Linked DNA regions of Homo sapiens: all the other regions are linked to region 2. The links are contacts of gene promoters, found by promoter capture Hi-C in blood cells and fetal thymus (Javierre and others, 2016). All regions are on one chromosome and are shown on one strand. The core of a region is centred on a gene start or on the middle of the fragment in contact, and the rest is flanking DNA. Distances in the headings are between cores, read along the strand shown.

Region 1 (2,700 bases), core at 11-2,510, 320 kb before region 2:
GACTTTCTGGGTGTGGACAGATACCAGAGTGGGATGAGTGTTCTGCAGGACCTGGAGCCCCTTGCCAGCCCCTCACTCCATGTGAGTCTTGCAGGTCAGACCCAGATTGGGTGCCCTAGGATCAGTGAAGTGTGACCTATGGTACTAGCCAGGCTATTCTTTCCTGGGGTGGGGAAGCAGCCTGGTCTGATCCTATCAACAGAGAAGGAGTAGGAAAGGGGCTGTTCGAGTCTGGATAAGTCCCCCTCCCAAAGTGGCAGCTTTGGTTCTAAGACAGTTCACTAAAAGGTACACTCCATGAGGGCAGGAATTCTGGTCCACTTTGTACACTGCTTCATTTCCAGAGCCTAAGATCATGCCTGGCATATGGTAGTTGTTCAATAAAAAAATTACTGAATTAATTAGAGTCCTTTTCAACCCCCATTCAGAACTCACTTCCTACCAAAAAATCTCCTTGATAAAGCTTTTCTACTTCAGTGACTACTCAAAAGCAGTACATATAAAATTCATTTGCAAATATAATCAATTGAATCCCAACAGCTGTCTATTTTGAAGGGAAAAAAATGACAAATTTAGATTATTATTGTTGTGTAGCAGGCCCTATGCTAGTTTCTTAACAGACATTATATGACTTAATTCTTGAAGGAAGGCCCTATTTCACAAACAAGGAAATGAAGGTGTCCGGTGTGGTGGCTCACACCTGTAATCCCAGCACTTTGGGAGGCCGAGGCAGGGGGATCGTTTGGGCCCAGAAGTTTGAGACCAGTGTGGGCAACATAGTGAGACCTTGTCTCTACAAAAAATAAAATTAAAATAATTAGCTGGGCACAGTGCCGCATGCCTGTAGTCCCAGCTACTTGGGAGGCTGAGACGGGAGAATCACTTGAGCCCAGAAGGTCCAGGCTGCAGTGAGCTCTCTGATCATGCCACTGCATTCCAGCCTGGATGACAGAGCAAGACCCTGTCTCAAAAGGGAAAGAAAAAAAGCAACTAAGGCTCTAAGGAGGGAAAATTACATAGTGCCCCTGAAGTTGTACCTCTAGGAAATTGCAGAGCTGGGATTTGAACTCACTTCTTACTCAACCCCTCTCCCAACTCTTTTCCTGAATTTCATGGAATTATTTTTTTTCCAACTAGGTTTTGTGATTCAGAAGGTAATTCTACAAAGAGTTCTTTAGCTCCTGTGTGCCCAAGACCAGACAGCATGCACGGGAAGCCCAAGTCCCTATCAGTCAGGAGCCACCAGGCTCCTGCGAACAAACAGGGAGCCTGGGCCTGATTGAAGGCAGAGCACTGGGCCTGATTGAAGCACTCATGGCAGTGGCCCCGGTCAGCCTGGGGCTGCGGTTTCCTGGCAACACTGGCCCTGCCAGCCCTTGACTTAGTGACATCTGCCATCCAGACCAACAGTAGATTATCCTACAAACAGGTACACCTCAGGCTTGTCAGTTCTACCCGGAAAGTTACCTCTCAGCATTCTGAGTGTATGGCTATGCACAGTCTCCCAGAGCTGGGAAGTGCCTGGAAGGCATCTCATCTGGCCCGCCACATCTCTTGTGCAGAATCCCTGACAGAGTGTCCTCTGGTGTCACTTACAGACTTTGGGGATGGGGGCTCGCTGCCCAGAAGGACATCTCCTTCTTTCTTGTTCTTCTACAGATTCTTCCTCCACCTCAGCTGAAAGGATTCATCTTGCAGCACGGCCCACCTTGGAACCCTTTGTGTTTGCTGAAACTTTCTTTGTGATTATTCTTATGTCACTGCATAGCATGTAAATGTATCACACCCCCCCCCCACCCATTATTATTATCTCCTAGTATGCACCAGGCACTGGCCATAAATTATTTCTAATCATCATTAAAACTCTACCACGGTTATCCTCCCTCTATGGATAGGAAAACTAAGGCTTGGAGGTTGAAGAGGTCATGGATCTTGTCCAAGGTCACTAAACTCATAAATGTCACAGTCAAAATTTGAATCTAGATAGAGTTGTCAGCTCCAAAGAAGTTTGCTCAGTCAGTTCTTCCCCAAATTAGCTTTTTATCCAAATTTGCTGAGAAGCTTTTTAAAAATACATCTTCTTTACAACAAAGCCAGAGAAAGAATAAGGCAGCTCTCTGCACAACAATATGGTGCTCGTATATGCCTAGAACATCTCCAGGAAGAAGGTGAGTCACTGGCCACCGCTGGCCTCAGGGGATGGTCTACGGGAGGGGACACAGGAGTGGGAGGGAGACTTGCTTTTTACTATATTCTCCAGTACTTATTGGATTCCTTCCTTTCCTTCCTTCCTTCCTTCCTTCCTTCCTTCCTTCCTTCCTTCCTCCCTCCCTCTCTTTCTTTCTTTCCGTCTCTTTCTCTTTCTTTCTTTCTTTTTCTTTCTTCCTTTTTCTTTCTTCTTTCTTTCTTTCTCTTCTTTCTCTTCTTTCTTTCTTTTCTTTCTTTCTCTTCTTTCTTTCTTTCTTTTCTTTCTTTCTTTCTTTCTTTCTTTCTTTCTTTCTTTCTTTCTTTCTTTCTTTCTTTCTTTTTCCTTCCTTCCTTTTTTCCTCCCCTCCTTCCCTTCCTCCTTCCTTCTTTCTCTCTCTTCCTTCCTTCTCTCTCTCTTTCTTTTCACCTTTTCAAAATTATTAGAAAATAATTTAAAAATCAAAAAAGAATATAGCTCCAGGACTCCACTGCCAGATCTCCTTATAAATCCAA
Region 2 (2,700 bases), core at 201-2,700:
ATTAGGGGGTTGTGGACAGACATGAAGCCACTCTCAAGTCATGGGGCTGTGCCTGGAAAAATACCACCTAAACCCATCTTCCTGCCCTCTGGTTAGGGCTGGCGGGGATGTGGGGGATGGGGGTGGGGTGGGGGAGGGTTGGGAAGGAATATGTGTGTCATCTCTGTGGGGCATGGAAACAGAAGGCTGGGGACACCCATTCTGGAGTAGCTTGGGGAGAGCCACTGACCCTAATTAGAAAAGCCACCTCTCTCCTTAGGGCCCTGTCTGTTTCTCTGGGGACAGGGTAGGACTACCTTATCCCTATGATGTGAGGTACTGCCAGTTGTTAATCAGTGTCTGTGGCTTCTCTAGGGGACAAGCCCTTCGGGTCAGTGGGCATGGGGTGGGCAGCGTGGGTTGGATTTTCTCCTCAGGACCTTTCCAGCCTTAGGATCATCCTCTAGCACTGAGTACTGCTGGAAGGGCAGGGAGTGCCCCCCACCCCACCCCATTTATTGCCCGACCAAAGAGAGGGCCTCCCTCCCCCTCCCTTGGAGGGACTTGCTGGACCACCCCTCAGCACGCCCACACCTTCCTCCTTAGCTAGTGAAAGACATACTCAGCAAGGCTTCCGCCTGTCAGGATGGCTGGGACAATAGGATTCACTGAGGATATAAGGCTGTTCCTAGCTTTTTCTCTTCCCATTCCCACCTGTGCCTCAGTTTTCCAAAGTGCTGGATTTAGAAAGGGTGAATTATGAGGGAGCTGGAGGGCTTTGCCCCACCCCCCTCCGCGCGCACACGCAAGCACAGGCAGAGGCACATACCCCCTCCAAGTCAAAGTTGTGAGTGGGGTGGTGTTTGCGCGTCTGTGGCTGGGACTGGATGTGTCAGGGATGGGAAAACCCATCATGCTGGTCACAGAAAATGCGCGGTGGGGACAGAAGCAGTTTTGAAGGAAAAGAAGAGGAGGGGGACTGAAAGAAAGAAGGGGGCGCTGAAAGGGAGGGCGCTGGGAGGAAAAAGGTGCAGTGTGGAGGAAGCGCGGCGTGGGCAGGGCTTGGGAAGGGATAACGGAATATCTGAGGTGGAGTGGGCCGTGGAGCGTCGGGGCCGGTCTGAGCAGCGGGTGTGTAAATGGAACAGTCCCGAGATGAATTTTATGGGAGTCTGCGCAGGTCCTTAATGTGTGGCTGTACCCTCCAGCCCCATGTACCCCACACGATGGACAGACAGCCTTGGTGTGGCAGGGCCCAAAGAGGTCCTATCTACCGCAATAACACGACCAGGCGGCCCTGGGGGCGCAGGGGCTCGGGGTGGGAGCGGCGGAGCGCGCGGAGTCGCCGCGGGGTGGCAGGGGTGGGCCGGGGGCGGGGCCGCGGGCGTCGGGGAGGTGGCAGTGGGCGCAGGGCGGGGCGAGCTCAGCGGAGGGCGGGTTTGAATGTGCCCCGGCGGGAGAGGGAAGCTGCAGCGAGAGCGCGCGGATCTCAGCGCGGGAGCAGTGCTTCTGCGGCAGGTGCTGCCCGGGGCCGGGGACTGGGGACTGGGGACTGCCGGGGCGGAAGACGCCGCTGCCCGCCTGCCACGGAGGGCAGGGAGGGCGGGCCTGACGGCTCCGCAGCCCGGAGAAGGGACGCCGGGTGGGGCCCCAGTGCGGAGCGTGCGGAGCCGCGCAGCACGTGGCGCGCACGGGCCAGGGAGCCTGAGGACCCTGCGGGGACCGGGACCCAAGCTGGGCGGGGCGGCCTGGCTCCCGGGCCTAAAACAGGCTGCGGTCACGTTGACCTCCGCAAGGGGCAGGCGAGTGGACGGGTGATCCCCATCGATCTGGTCGGTATCAGGGAGGGGCCGTGCCGCTGACTGCGCTGGCGGAGGGGTATGGGGATGGGGATGGGGATGGAGGCTCGCGAGCGGAGGTGCAGGCTCGCGAGCGGAGGTGCGGGGCTGTCTCTTTAACCCCGGTCTTTTACTGGCTAAACTCGTATCCCTGGCGTCTCCTTCCTGCGCACGTCTTCATTTACTGATTTACTGTGAGGGTATATGAGAGGGTGAAGACAAACAGTCCTCGGCTTTGCTTACCAGGAGAGAGCAGTCGTAGGTCAAGGCTGGCTCCAACCCTGCCCTCACACCTCTAGGGGTCTCTCTGCAGCCCTGTGGTAGTCCCTTTGCCTACTCCTCTCGGTGGCCTCCAGACCCTCCAACTTTCCTCCTGCTTGTGTAAGCTCCCCATGCCAGGATGTGTGTGATGGGGCGGGGCTGAGCTGCCTGACACTCAAGTCAGGCTGGGAATGATCTTGGTCTCCACCTCATTTTTCCCTTTAGTTGAATCAGAGTTCCCCCCACCTCCCAGTCTACAGGGCTAACTGAGAAGCAGCTTTTATACCTCTCTCCATTCCAAAAGGAGCTTGAACATTTAATATGGATTCTAGCTCCTCCACTCACCAGCTCTGTGACTTCAGGCAAGTGACTCAACCCCTCTGAACCTCAGCTGGCCCCATCTATTCAGTGCTAGTACTAGCTTATGGGTGGTTGTGAAGAAAAGACAAGAGATCTGCAGGTAGTGGCTAGCCCCATATGAAATCCTGGGAGTGGAGAATTGCAGGAGAGGTGTTGGGAGTCTGGAGGCAGGGAGGTACTCAATTTGGTGGCTACTTTCAGGGGCCCACCTCAGCAGGCCAAGGCATAGTTGGAGGGACACCAGATGCTCTGAGCTGGTATC
Region 3 (2,700 bases), core at 141-2,640, 500 kb before region 2:
TTCCTACTCTAGAGTTGGAAGGATCCCTGGAGACTCATTGCACCAGGCCCTCCCTTTCACCTCCATGGAGCAGCCGAGGGGCGGCCATCTGACCTAAACTCAGCTGGTCAGACTCTTGGGTCTGGGCATCTTGAGCATCCTGACACTAGGATGGAAGGGGCCTTTGGAGTTCAGCCAAGTCACTTCTGTCTGGTTTCCAAGTTAGGTACTCCAGACTCCCAGTCGATTCTCTGACCTAGCTCCTTAATATTTTTCCAGTTAATTCTTTTGTTTTTTATTTTTTCTTATAAGTGCCAGAGGTGGTTTCTGTTACTCGCAAACAGAGAGGAGCCAGTGAAGGAAAATAAGATGGACAGGACTTCAGAGGGGCAGGAAGAGAGCCGAAAACCGGGAGCTAGGCTTTACAAAAATAAGCGAAAGAGTATATCTTGAAGAAAGGAGTAGCCAGTGGCGTCAATTTTTATTTAGAAAGTGTCCAGTATGTCTGTGTAAGCATGGGAGAAAAAGGCAAGAAGGAAACACAGCTGTTAACAATGAGGAATAATGGGGGGAGGCTTCGATAGATCTTTGTTTCAAAGGACAGGAACCCAACTCATACTTGCTTAAGACAAAAACAACAACAAAAAAGTAATTTATTGGCTTATATCACTGAAGAGTCCAGGGGTGAGTCTGTCTTTGGCACAGCCCGGACAATGTCTGCAGGGCTTGGTCTCTGCTCTCCTCTGTGTGGGCTTCCTTCTCGCGCATGTTCTCCTTAGGCAGTACTCCTGGAAACTCTTGGAATATACGTACCCATTTAGTAACTTCGGAGAGAGCAGAAAGCCATTCTTCTTCCCAGTGGCTCCAGTAAAATTCCAGGATTGACTCTGATGGGCCTGGTTTGGTCATATGTCCTTCCTGAACCAATCACTATGGATAGGACTTTTTTTTTTTTTTTTTTTTTTTTCTGTGCTTGAGTGGTCTGAATCTTCCCACGGAGACAGGGAGATGGAGTCATTTCCATCCAAGCCACTTTTACTGAGAGTGTAGGGACTGCCCAGAGGAAATCAAGAGGCTATTTATCAGAAGAAAGAATGGGTTCCGGGGGATGAAAACCCAATCTGTGTTCCCGTTGACTAGGGGGAAGGGTATAATGACTGGCTAGGTCTGCTCACAAGGCCATGCTTGGAGGACATGAGGCAAGTCCACTTGAGTCATCTTCCCCAAAACCACGGGCACTGGGCAGAAAAAACTACACTTGAACACTGTAGGTGGATTGAGGGGTGGGCAGAAGCAAGAAGAGCAAAATAGCACGGGGAAGGAACGGGTGGGCTCAAATCCAGAAATCCAGATTTGAATCTGAGTTTTGCCATTTGGTAATTTTTAAACTTCTGAGCCTCAGTTTCTCATTGGAAAACTGGATCAATGCAGGAACAGTGCCTGTAGAATTCTTATGAGAATTAAATGGAATACTCGACATAAAGGATTCAGCTCTGTTCCTGAAAAAGCCAATGAATGTTTGCTGTTATGATAGTGGTCTTGAACTTCCATGCGGGTGACTGTGCCCTTGATAAGGGGTCAGGCTGTCCTCGGAGCCCTCTTCCTCATGCCATCAGGGCCTCCCCAGCACAGGCCTCAGAACTCACTAACATGTTGCTCAGTCAAAGCCTGGCCAGATTCCAACCCCAGGCATGAAGGAAAGCATAAAGGATCTGGTGTTTGGGTGTGGTCACGGTGGGTCCTGATGGGGCTGCGTCAAGGCTAATGAGGAAGAGGCTGGAGGGCCAGGGATTGGCAAGGAGGAAGGTGAGGAGTAAGGGGAGGGGTGATTTTGGCTAGAGCCAGCAGGGGTCACTGCAGATCTAAGTAACTTCAGGGAAGCGGCAGGGCCACCCATGGGCCCTCCCACATTACTACCTGCCTTCGTAACTGGGATACAGGTCTTGGACCAGTTCTGGGGAGAAGGATTGGGATTGGACTCACGCAGTGGGAGGTAGCTGCCTAGGGCATCTGCCCTTGGTGTCCTCCGGGGCCTAGGCTGTCTCTCCTCCATGGAGGCTCTTCACCAATGGGGTGTGGGCCTGGCGTGCCACCGGACTCTGAGTTCCAGCAGTGCCTAGTAAGTGCATCTTGAGATGCTCCCCTATAAAGAGCTCTGAGATTAAATGCGTTTCCTTGTCTCGTCCCTCGTCTCTGAGGGTTGTAGCCCAGATTAGCATGTTAGAGGCTCAGAGAAGTCCTGCAGTCAAGAAAACCTGTTAGACTGTGTTTAACTCAGGTTTCCTGTGCTTATTTGAGCCCGTTTGCCACAACATAGTTAGGGAAATGCTGGCTTAAGGGTGGGAAAGGGGGTGTGCTTGATACATTAACCTTCCCCAAGAGCATTTGCCCTCCCAACACACTCCCTCCTCCACCCATTGCAAGTAGTGTGTGACACATGTCTGTTGTAGAAAAGTGGGGGAAAAAACTACAAAGAAGAAAGTTACCCATCCCCTGCCTCCAGAAGAAAGTTACCCATCCCCTGCCTCCTGCTCCTTAGTCTCTTCTCAAAAGAGCTCTGGCCACTGTCCTCGGTCTTCCTGGAGAAAGGGTGATGATGGAGCTCCCCTCAAGGCACACCCACTTCTACTGGGGAGAAGCCCCAAGAGGAAAGGGCCCTTTTAGAGGTCATCTTATCCACCCCTCCGTCTCCTCTCTGTGCAGATTCTTGCTTCCCTCTCT
Region 4 (2,700 bases), core at 181-2,680, 410 kb before region 2:
GAGTGCACCTGTAGTCCCAGCTACTCAGGAGGCTGAGGTGAGAGAACCACTTAAACCCAGGAGTTCAAGTCCAGCCTGGGCAACATAGTGCAACCCTGTCTCTAAAAAAAAAAAATTTAAAAATTAAAAAAAATTTAAAGTGGACCTGTTCTGTTATTTGTAATCGAGAGGGAAGGGAAGTCATCAGTTTAATTCCTTCGAACCATAATTTATTGAGTCATTGTGTTAGGCTCTGGGAATACTAAGAAAAATAAGACACCATTCCTGCCCTCAAGGAGTCTAGTCATGGAGGCAGATACCAAGATTGTTTTTATGACAGCCCACATCAGTTGGGAATATATTTGGTATCAAGCAACAGAATACCCAACAGACAGTGGCTTGAGCAATAAAGACATTGATCAATATCACATCACTGGAAGTCTGGAGGCAGAGGGTTCCAGCTTTGGTGAAAGGATGACATCAATGATGCTATCAAAACTCAGCCTTTTTCTATCCTTCTGCTCTGCCATCTTCAACGTGTTAATTTTTGTCTCCATGCTTGTTGCCTCCTGGTCACAAGATGGCTGCTATGGTGACTCCTATAATTATATTCAAGGCAGAAAAGAAAAAAGCCAAGGAGAGAAAGGGGCTCTATTTTTATCAGGGAAGAAACGTGTTTCCCAGATACCCCCTCTGAAAATGACCTCTCATGTATCATTGGGCACAACTGAGAGGAAATGCTTCAGGGAGGCTGGGAAACTGAGGGACTAGCAAATAGGAACAGGATGCTGGTGATGTCTTAGATGAAGCTTGACTCATCTTCTGGGCCTAGATACATTGTCACCCGAAAAGGTGAGGTTCTGGTGGCAAGGAAGAAAGGGTGGAGCAGAATCACTGTTAGGTAGGATGAGCAGTGCCTGCCTTGTGTGGTAAGAGCTAGGATAGGCTCAGGATGCAAAGAGAAACCAGAGGAGCAGAGTTGGCCTAACTTGGGGGCTCAGGGAAGGGTTCCTGGAAAAGGTGGCTCCTGAGTGAGTTTTAGAGCAGCTGTATCAAGAACAGTTGCAACGTCATCCTAGGTAGATTGACAGCAGGAGCAGAAGCAGAAATAGACATGTGAAATAACCTAGTATGTCCAGGAAAGTGAGCACAATTAGATATTTAGTTAAGTGATGGGGAGAGAGAGAGACAGAGAGAGAGAGAGAGGAGGTGCAGGTGGAGAGGGGAAGAAACCAGGCCACGGTGGGCTTTGAAAGTCATGCTGTCAACCTTGTCTAACCAATTTATCCTGGCTTCTGCCAGTGCAGGGGCAGGGCTGGCTGTGCAATTTAGAAATATTACTCAATGCTGGTACAGAGATTGGGTGGGTGGGAGAGGCCGTGAGAAGCTCAGAGTGCAGCAGGGAGACCAGCAAGGAGGTTCTTGCAGCCATCCAGATGAGAGCTGTGGAGGGCCTGGAACAGACTTGGGCCTGGAACAGACTTTCCAAAGTCAGACTGCCAATATTTCAGCAAAAAGACAGGCAGGGTTCCATGCCACGAATCTCTGGGTGGGATAGCTGTCTCAAGAGGGCTGGGAAGCTCTCAAAAATGTACATGACACTGTGCAATCCCACACAGGGTAGTCTGCGTCCCAGTAATGAAGGAAGAAGGGAGGTGACCACAGAAATCAGTGTGTGGCAGGAGAGCTCTTTGCCAAATTGCTGTGTTAAGGAGGCTTGAACAGAGAAGGGAAGGACAGATGTGAGACAGGACTACGGGCCTGTAAAGAGAGTTTCTGGAAGATAAAAATAGGTAGAGGTTTGTGAAAGATGCTAGGGGCAACCCAGGCTTGTTTAGCTGTGATCATAGCCAGTCAAGATCAAGGGATCCAGAGGCTGCAGTTGGGCCTGATGACACAGCACGGGTGGGGAGTGTACGAAGAGTAGGGCTCCTTGCTGCCCCCTGGCAGGAGAGCAGCCTGCAAACCCAGAGGGCAGCAGTAGATGACACAGAGGCCCAGGGAGCCCTGGAGGTGGGATGGGCCCTCCCCTCTCCACTGCTGCTGGGGTGTTCAAAGGGCCTCTCCCCATAAAACAACACTTGGGGCACAAAGGAAGCTTGTGAACCAGACTGCTGGGGCCACTTTGTCCCACCTGAGAAAGCCAAGAGCACGGGGGCCTTGAGAAGGGAAAAACGTGGTTCTGAGTTTTAAAAAGAGTCCTGGGCAAGGATCCTTGTGGATTATGGAAGGAGTAGTTAGTGAGCATTAGAAAAGTGGGAAGCTTCTGGATAGCTGGAAACATGGCCGTTCCTGGAGGGCGGTGCGCCCAGGGAGGGCATGGAAGCTCCACGTCCTTCCTGCATACCTTGTCTTACGCATCTGTTCATTGTATCCTTGGTACCCCATGTCTGAAGGACATAAAATGATCTTGACACCTGAAACATCCATGCTGTCCCGGGTGATGTCAGAAAAACACTCTAATGAGGACAGCAGTGCCCAGGAGGGTTCCATAATAAAATGGAAATGGCTTATACAGAATCATGCAACCTGAGGAATGTAAGGAGGAGATATGAGCAGGGAGCCTCATTACACCCTAGGACTGACTGTGGAACTGTGTGAGGAGCTGTGGATCCTACAGTGCTCTCAACTGACCAGCAAATAGCTGCTTGGTTTGTGGATGGCAGTTCCAAGGTAAATGGACAACCTCCTGTTTGGAAGGCTGCTACTATGATCCAAGAA

Evidence for each region. The method cuts DNA at HindIII sites, captures the fragments that hold promoters and counts their contacts. A CHiCAGO score of 5 or more calls a contact.
Region 1: a contact is called between a fragment that was not itself captured here and the fragment with the promoter of SLC29A1 in region 2, in 1 of 17 cell types (monocytes). The highest score is 5.6, in monocytes.
Region 3: a contact is called between a fragment that was not itself captured here and the fragment with the promoter of SLC29A1 in region 2, in 1 of 17 cell types (neutrophils). The highest score is 7.6, in neutrophils.
Region 4: a contact is called between a fragment that was not itself captured here and the fragment with the promoter of SLC29A1 in region 2, in 1 of 17 cell types (monocytes). The highest score is 5.7, in monocytes.

The regions. Positions count from the first base shown.
Region 1 is chr6:43,902,639-43,905,338 of GRCh38, forward strand. All of the region lies in intron 1 of LINC01512 (long intergenic non-protein coding RNA 1512), which reads left to right. It overlaps LOC105375070 (a long non-coding RNA gene), which reads left to right. Exons shown (of 3, transcript XR_007059588.1): 3 at 1,660-1,877. Among named protein-coding and RNA genes, the nearest start is that of LINC01512, 13 kb to the left of the region's middle. The HindIII fragment of the contact is 1,598 bases long and covers 462-2,059 here.
Region 2 is chr6:44,222,145-44,224,844 of GRCh38, forward strand. SLC29A1 (solute carrier family 29 member 1 (Augustine blood group)) reads left to right here and starts at 1,451. Exons shown (of 13, transcript NM_001372327.1): 1 at 1,451-1,497. RefSeq lists enhancers at 1,280-2,138, 2,381-2,530 and a silencer at 1,291-1,690. The HindIII fragment of the contact is 15,932 bases long and covers 1-2,700 here.
Region 3 is chr6:43,722,184-43,724,883 of GRCh38, forward strand. No RefSeq gene overlaps it. Among named protein-coding and RNA genes, the nearest start is that of MRPS18A, 36 kb to the left of the region's middle. The HindIII fragment of the contact is 7,123 bases long and covers 1-2,700 here.
Region 4 is chr6:43,815,459-43,818,158 of GRCh38, forward strand. All of the region lies in intron 1 of LOC105375070 (a long non-coding RNA gene), which reads left to right. Among named protein-coding and RNA genes, the nearest start is that of LINC02537, 36 kb to the right of the region's middle. RefSeq lists enhancers at 1,646-1,695, 1,816-1,875. The HindIII fragment of the contact is 1,289 bases long and covers 787-2,075 here.